Linked DNA regions of Homo sapiens: region 1 is linked to region 2. Evidence: promoter capture Hi-C in human tissues and cell types (Jung and others, 2019). All regions are on one chromosome and are shown on one strand. Each heading gives the region's core, a stretch centred on a gene start or on the middle of the fragment in contact. The rest is flanking DNA. Distances are from core to core; before and after follow the strand shown.

Region 1 (4,368 bases), core at 853-3,352, 52 kb after region 2:
GAAAAACATCTATTCAGATTCTTTGCCTACTTTTTAATGGGACTGTTTTTGCTATTGAATTCCTTGTGTATTCTGGATGTTAGTCCTTTGTTGGATAAATAGTTTGCAAATATTTTCTGTCATTCTGTGGGCTGTCTCTTCACTCTTGATTGTTTCCTTTGCTGTGCAGAAACTTTTTATTTAACCTAGCCCCATTTGTCTATTTTGTATTTTTGTTACTAGTGCTTTTGGGGTTTAACCATGAAGTCATTGCTTAGATCAATGTCATGGAGTGTTTCCCCCATGTTTAGTTCTAATAATTTTATAGTTTTGGGTTTTACATTTAAGTATTTAATCCATTTTAAGTTGATTTTTTTATGTGGTGAGACTTAGCGGTCTAGTTTTATTTTTCTGCATATGGATATTCAGTTTTCCCAGCACTATTTATTAAAGAGGGTGTCTCTTTCCCAATATAGATTTTTGATGCCTTTGTTAAAAATTAGTTGGCTGTAAATATGTGGATTTATTTCTGATTCTCTATTCTTTTCTGTCAGTCTATATGTCTATTTTAATACTAGCACCATGATATTTTGTTTGTTATAGCCTTGGAATATATTTTGAAGTCAGGTAGTGTGAAGTCTCCAGCTTTGTTCTTTCTGCTCAGGATTGCTTTGGCTATTTGGGCCCTTTTTTGGTTCCATATGAATTTTAGAATTTCTTTTTCTGTTTCTGTGAAAAATGACATTGGCATTTCAATAGGAATTTCATTGAATCTATAGGTGCTTTGGATAGTATGGTCATTTTAATGGTATTAATTCTTTTAATTCATGAGTGTGGATGTCTTTCCATTTCCATCCTCCTCAATTTCGTTCACCAGTGTTTTGAGGTTTTCCTTGTAGAAATCTTTTACCTCCTTGGTTACACTTATTTCTAAGTATTTTATTTTCTTTTAGCTATTATAAATGGGATTTACTTATTGATTTCCTTTTCAGCTACTTTGTTTATGGTTTCTAGAAATGTTACTGATTTTTGTATATTGATTTTGTATCCTATAACTTTACTGAATTTATTTATCAGATCTAAGAGTTTTTGGTGGAGTCTTTTGATTTTTCTAAATATAAGAACATGTCATCTGCAAATAAGGACTATTTGACTTCCTCTTTTCTAATTTACTTATTTTCTAATTTATTTATATATTTGCTTAATTGCTCTGGGTTGGACATCCAGTACTATGTTGAATAGGAGTGGTGAAAGTGGGTATTCTTATCTAGTTCCAATTCTTGGAGGAGAGGCTTTCAGCTTGTCCCCATTCTGGATTATGTTTTCTGTGGGTTTGTCATATATGGCCTCAGCATAACGTTTTGTTATGCTGAGATATGTTCCTTCTATGCCTAGTTTGTTGAGAGTTTTTATTATGAAGGGATGCTGAATTTTATCAAAACCACAATTATTTTTGCACCAACCTAATTTTATTTGTATTGGGTACTCCAGTTTAGGGTATATATAGATTTATTTAGAATTATTCTATTCTCTTGCTAAATTTATCCTTTTGTAATTATATCAAACATGTTATTTGCATTAATGACTTATTGCTGGTTACCCTGACGTAACAATGGTTTCAATCTGTCAATAGTCTGAGTACACATTTTGAACCCCAAATGTTGATTTCCCAACGACACTATCATAACAGGAGTTAGTAACCTACAAATACAATTTAGTTTGAGGAAGCTAAAGAGATTCCCATAGGCTTCCTCAGCAAACCCTGACCTAACAATGGTTTCAATTTGTCAATTATTTGTTACTTTGCTTACCGTCCTCCACCATTAGAGCACATGACACTTTGAACATGTTTTAAACAAAGGTTTTAAAGAAAGAAGGTTTCTGCAGGAAAATAGCTTTGTTTTTGTGGATGGCATTTAAAAATACATCCAAGAGATAATAGTCTCTTGCTATCAACATCTCCTGAGATAACCAGTTCATGTTAGCCTTTTCTTTTTGTGTAATTGGTTTTTTTCTTTGCTTTCTTCTATATCAGTAAATACTTACCCTTCTTTTATTTTTATTAATTTTTACCCAGATTATCCTCCTTGAGGTTAGGTTGTTAAGTGCATTAAGATGACTGATCCAAAAAACTGGCAGCAACAAAAGTCTACCCAATGATTTTCCCCTTCATCTGTTCATCATTGTATGGAGTAGGGTTAGACAAACACAAACAGATAGGCCTGCCTCATCCACTGAGCAGGAAAGAGACAAAGCCCACGAATCCCACATTTTAAAAAATGAAAAGAAGGAATGACTCATTCTGAAGGAATGATGGACAGTTATATTTAGAGATACTGTCACAGCATCATGTTCAGCAACTGATCCTTCCTCCAAAACTCAAAAATGCTATCTGTGTTTCACCAATATTATCAAGCAAAGAAAAAAATTAGAAATAGGGAAGTTTCTGTAAGTGCTTATATCTTTCCTGTCACTTTTCCATGTCTTTATAAATATATCTCAATAATGTATTCATCAATCCCTCTTTTCTTTAACATACATATATTTTGACACAAATTCATTCAGTTGTGAAAGTTATCCTACCAGTCTCCTGTCACCCTCCCTACATTTAATAAGCAGATTTAGGTTTTCAATCAGTCCACTTTGTACATCGATGTATATGATGAGTCTATTGTATATGATGCTTCATAACTTGTTATATTTAACTTGGAGTAAAATAGATCCCTTAATTAGGTATTGAACATTCAAATTAGTATAAGCTTGTTATAAGCCTTTAATAGTGGTAGTGGTATTTGCTTTATTTTCTAAGTATGCAAATCCAAATCCTGAACGAGTGTCTCTCTTATTCAAGAGTCATTTTTATCCACCTGGAACTAAGGGTAATGGCCAGTATAATCCACTTGCTAACTTTAAGTCTTCCTGGATCCTTTCAGTAAATATTATATTTTGGGTTGAATTGTGTCCTTCCAAAAGATGTGTTGAAGTCCTAACGTCAGAATCCTCAGAAGGTGACCTTATTTGGAAATAGGGTCATTGCAGTTGTAATTAGTTAAGATGAGATCATACTGGAGCAAGGTGAATTATTGATACAATATGACTAGTGTCCTTGTAAGAACAGCAGAGACAAAGAGACACAAGACACATGGGGGAAAATGCCATGTGACAATGGAGGCAGAGACTGAAGCACCATGGTTGCAAGCCAAGGAATGCCAAGGATTCCTGACAAATCACCCAAAGTTAAGAAGAGGCAAGGGAAGATTTCCCCCTACCAATTTCAGGGAATCTTGACCCTGCTAACACCCTGAGTTGGACTTGAGCTTCCAGAACTGTAGATAATACATTGCTGGTGTTTTAAGTAATCGAGTTTGTGGTACTTTGTCATGGCAGCCCTAGGAAATTAATGCATAGTCCATAACTGCTTTTAGTTTCCAATTTCTTTATGCTGATAAGCATAACAATTTTTGGTACATTTGCAGCTTCGAGAGAGTGGGATGCATATTTTTTGCACACATTGTTGCACTGCTTGAATGCTTCCATGCCTTTTTGTTTCATGTCTCCAAGAGGCCACTTTCAAAGAGCTAATGAAGTCTTCCATTTGTTTATTCTAGTCCTTTTCTGAATTCAGAATGAAATTTTATGACAGGCGTAGACCTATCCCACTTTGGTTATCCCTCTTCAGGTCCATAAAATGTTCTGTAACTTACCATCTCATACATGGATTCCCTTGTTATCTTTCAGTTTTTATAAGGCTCATTTTTCAGACTAAATTGCCAATCCATACTCTGCTGCCTAAGAATTGTGTATACTATATTATTGTTTTTATTATCTAGTTTCTCTGATGATGAGATACAGTGTTAATTCTGCCACTGGGCAGATTTATCTTTTTCTTTTTTGAAGTGCAGTTATAGACCAGTCACAATGTTGTTATCTTTGAAGTTGAGTGTCAGCTTTCTACGCTTGACATGGTGGAGAGTAGACATGGTGCTGCTTGTTTGGCATCCTCTGATAACTGGTAATAGGGAGGGGTCCATTTGTCTATGGGGTAAAAAACTCAAGGAGATTAGTATGTGGCCAAAGACATAGCAGACCTTTTCATGTATGCTATGGATACCTCCACTTGTCCACTTTCTCATGTTCTTGAATATGCCATTTCCATTTAACCAGGAACGCTTATGTGCATTTATCTTTCTGTTGGAATGCTCTTCTCATATGACCCATAATATTATGCATATTTCAGTTGTCAAAATAATTTTACATACTTTCCTAACAGAATAAGCCTAAATTAATGCTTGACATGCCAATGATTGACTTTCAAAAGGCATGAAACTGGAGGCCTCCTACAGTAATTGTCTATGGTAAAATCCCCATGGTTGTCCCAGTGTAGTAGCA
Region 2 (4,288 bases), core at 348-2,847:
GTCTATAATAGAACAAAAACTGTTCTAAGTGCCTTTATTTGAGCAAGAAATAGAGGAGTAAGGAGGAGGAAATAAGAATTTTTCTTCTTATTTCAAGAAATTAGATAAATAGTATTAGAATAGAGAACATAGAAATTAGAAATCAGAAACTTAGAAAAATAGATCCGAATAAACAAGAAACTTATGAAGACAGAAACTTAATGAAACTCAAAAAGTCACGAGGATAAATCTAACCTAAAGCTGTTTTTTTTTTTTTTTAAAGACCTGTAATATAGGAAAACCCCTTGTGAGTCGAATAAAGGAAAAAAAAAAGTCAAACAGGCATCATAATGAAAATGAGAACTTTTCATGTAAGGGAGGACACAAGAATTATAATGATCAAATGCAACTCTGTGACAAAATATTTGTTATAGAAATGAGTACTTTTCTAGCAAAATATAAAGTATAAAATCAACTGCTATCAAATTACCATATTGAAATCTTCTTTTTTTTATCTGATCACAGTTTTTATCTGATATTTCTTTTGAAATATTAGTATTGTTAATTAGAATACAAGGTATTCTAGTCTGTGAGCCAAATTCTCTTTGCCAAATGAGTATTAGAGCTCGAATTCTGAAGCCATACTGCTTGGGTTTAAGTCCTTGCTCTTTCATTTATTTGTCTTTATGAAATTGACCTTAAGCAAATTACTTAACTTTTCTGTGCCTTATTTTCCCCTCTACACAATAGGCTTGGTGATACTAATAGTAACAGTAATTACCTCATAGGCTTGCTATTCAGACTCCATTATGTAATGCACAAAGAAAACAATTAATAGAGGATTGGCACACAGTAAGAAATGTAGCAATTATTTTGCCTTTGATTTTGTTCATTCATCCAAGAAATGTTTTTGAACATTTGCATCTGTGTCTGTTCTATTCTAGCTACAGGGGCTGTGGAAATAAGCAAGAATAAGTACCAGCCCTAATGAAGTTTACATTCTACTGGGAAAGAGAGACAACATACGTAACATAGTATAATTTCAAGGAGTGACAAGAGCATCGATCTATTGTGTGGTGATTTATAGCCAATAAAAATAGTTTAGTGTTCAAGTATATGTAATACAATGCTCATTTCTATTATAACCTACAGTTTATGTATGTGATGACAAATATGACAAAAAGTTCAGACTTCAACAGGAAGATTTAGGTTTGAATCTTAGCTCTGCTATATAGTATTTACCTTTGGTCAAGTTTACTTAACATATCTGCTTTGATTTATTCATCTGTAAAATATGGATACTAATACGCCTCTCCTAGAACTGTGATGATATTAAATGAATTAAATGGCTGTAGCACGAAACATGTTAGTTTTATCTTCCCTTCCCTCTCTCCATTCACTCATTCATTCATTCCCTTCCCTCTCTCCATTCATAATTCCCTCTTTTCTGTCCACTTTTCTTTATGCTCTCTCTTCTTTCTTTGGTCTTTTCCTTTTTTATTTTTCTTTTTCCTGGGGATTATGATACATATTCATTGATACATGCTTGAAAGTAATCAGAGTAAGATAAATATTTGTCTTAACATGCTCTCTCTTACAGGTTAAATAGAGAGTAAAATGGAATGGGAAAACCACACCATTCTGGTGGAATTTTTTCTGAAGGGACTTTCTGGTCACCCAAGACTTGAGTTACTCTTTTTTGTGCTCATCTTCATAATGTATGTGGTCATCCTTCTGGGGAATGGTACTCTCATTTTAATCAGCATCTTGGACCCTCACCTTCACACCCCTATGTACTTCTTTCTGGGGAACCTCTCCTTCTTGGACATCTGCTACACCACCACCTCTATTCCCTCCACGCTAGTGAGCTTCCTTTCAGAAAGAAAGACCATTTCCCTTTCTGGCTGTGCAGTGCAGATGTTCCTCGGCTTGGCCATGGGGACAACAGAGTGTGTGCTTCTGGGCATGATGGCCTTTGACCGCTATGTGGCTATCTGCAACCCTCTGAGATATCCCATCATCATGAGTAAGGATGCCTATGTACCCATGGCAGCTGGGTCCTGGATCATAGGAGCTGTCAATTCTGCAGTACAATCAGTGTTTGTGGTACAATTGCCTTTCTGCAGGAATAACATCATCAATCATTTCACCTGTGAAATTCTGGCTGTCATGAAACTGGCCTGTGCTGACATCTCAGACAATGAGTTCATCATGCTTGTGGCCACAACATTGTTCATATTGACACCTTTGTTATTAATCATTGTCTCTTACACGTTAATCATTGTGAGCATCTTCAAAATTAGCTCTTCCGAGGGGAGAAGCAAAGCTTCCTCTACCTGTTCAGCCCATCTGACTGTGGTCATAATATTCTATGGGACCATCCTCTTCATGTACATGAAGCCCAAGTCTAAAGAGACACTTAATTCGGATGACTTGGATGCTACCGACAAAATTATATCCATGTTCTATGGGGTGATGACTCCCATGATGAATCCTTTAATCTACAGTCTTAGAAACAAGGATGTGAAAGAGGCAGTAAAACACCTACTGAACAGAAGGTTCTTTAGCAAGTGAGTGCAAAATGTACTGGAATATGAACACACTTGATATTGTTGAAACTTCAGAATTATGTTAGAATTTTGGGTACTTTTACTATTTTTATGCATTTTCATATATTATGTTAAAATAATGAGATACAGCATTTCAAAATTATTGCATGTCCACTCTAGAGAATTTGCAAGATACAGGGCAGTAGGATGAAGAAGAAAGAGGGGTTACCTATTACTCTACTAGTGGGAAATGGCCCCGTTTCAACATTTTGAACAGTAACTTTCATATTATGGGTTTTTTTTTCTGCATTGGAATTGGGTGTGATGTGCCTTTTTATGTTCACTTTTTTCCATAATGTTATTTCATAGGCAACATTTCATAGAATCTTTCAAAATAAATAAAGCCCTCTGTTGTAGAAAAAGCAAAACAGAAAAACCCCAACATAGTGTACTCACATTTTCCAGGGACAAGCCTTGTGTTATAGTTTCACGTTAATCTCCAGATCCTGTTAAGCCACTAAATACCAGTTTCTTTTTCTGTATTAAATTTTGTGTGTGTGTGAAGTTGAGTATCTGGGACTATCAAAGGGCAGTAGATAAATAGAGTTTAAAAGCAGGGCCTATGCAATCAGTCAGGATATCCTGCTTTATGGTCTTTCTTTGCTTTAACTTACATGTTGGCTCTAAAGAACATTTTGCAAAATTAAAAATGGGTTTGAAAATCAGTCTACTGGTCTAGATAATAATGTGGACTACTTTTGGGCTGAATGGAGTGTCATATCAATGCCCATTTAGAAGATGCCAGATTTCTTTGCTGTCCCGAGGGAATTCCAATATTTTTCCAAATCTTAGAAGAATGTCCAAGCTCTTAATTTTTAGTAAGAATACTATTGATGTCTTGTCTCTGTTACTAACTAGTTTGATTTGAGGAAGAAGAGGATTGGGGAAAGTCAGATACTACCTTGCTTTTCCTTGGTTTTTACGTCAACTTTTTTCTCTATTGAAGGACATTTTAAATTTACAGCCCAAGATGAATGATGAAGTGTGTTCAGGAGTGAACCACATTCTAGGTAATCAGTTTGGCTGAATCAATTTTTATTAATGGACCAGTGAATTTAGATTATATTGGGCATAAACATATTTTGCACAGGCAAATAAGAATTACCTGCTTGTGGAATCTTTTGGGTTTAGTCACTCATTTAATCTTCCCAAGTTCACTTGTTAATTTTAGTTGAAGGAATATTAAACAGTCACAAACTATATTTAAATATATCCATCATAGCTGTTTACAGATTAAATCTGATGGTAAGAGTTGAGATCATTGATAATTAAATTTACATCCTGACAAAATAGGCTATGAGAATCTATTAGTTCCCATACACCAGTTCATTGGACTTTTTGCACCCACTAAGAATTCCAGGTAGGTAGAAAGCCCTGGAAGTCAGGCATTTTATGTTTGACCCACAGGTAGGCTGTCTTGAATGCTCAAATGCTGATTTTGTTTTCCTTCACAGCTTAAATCCAGCCACTTTCATAAATTCTCTGGGGTGACTGTGGTAGCTCCATAGTCTTATATCAGATTTATAAATTTTTGATGGAAAATTAACTAAAGCAAGAAGAAATTTAAAAACACACATTTCTCCTCACAGGAGAATATTAGGACAGTTTTTCTCTCACAGGTTGTAGAATCAAGATCTGAAGAAAATACAGGCATGTTACCTGTCTTGATATATTTATGTGTTCAAATTTGCTGGGCAAAA

The links. Contacts are between HindIII fragments. The study calls those that stand out against the background at their distance.
Region 1: a fragment that was not itself captured here is called in contact with the fragment with the promoter of OR13C2 in region 2 in 1 of the 25 tissues and cell types used here (hippocampus).

The regions. Positions count from the first base shown.
Region 1 is chr9:104,551,324-104,555,691 of GRCh38, reverse strand. The region is part of intron 4 of LOC107987105 (a long non-coding RNA gene); the gene reads left to right. Among named protein-coding and RNA genes, the nearest start is that of OR13C8, 16 kb to the left of the region's middle. The HindIII fragment of the contact is 5,813 bases long and covers 1-4,368 here.
Region 2 is chr9:104,602,936-104,607,223 of GRCh38, reverse strand. It overlaps OR13C2 (olfactory receptor family 13 subfamily C member 2), which reads left to right and starts at 1,597. Exons shown (of 1, transcript NM_001004481.1): 1 at 1,597-2,553. The coding sequence starts at 1,597. The coding sequence ends at 2,553. The region is part of intron 3 of LOC107987105 (a long non-coding RNA gene); the gene reads left to right. The HindIII fragment of the contact is 6,361 bases long and covers 1-3,341 here.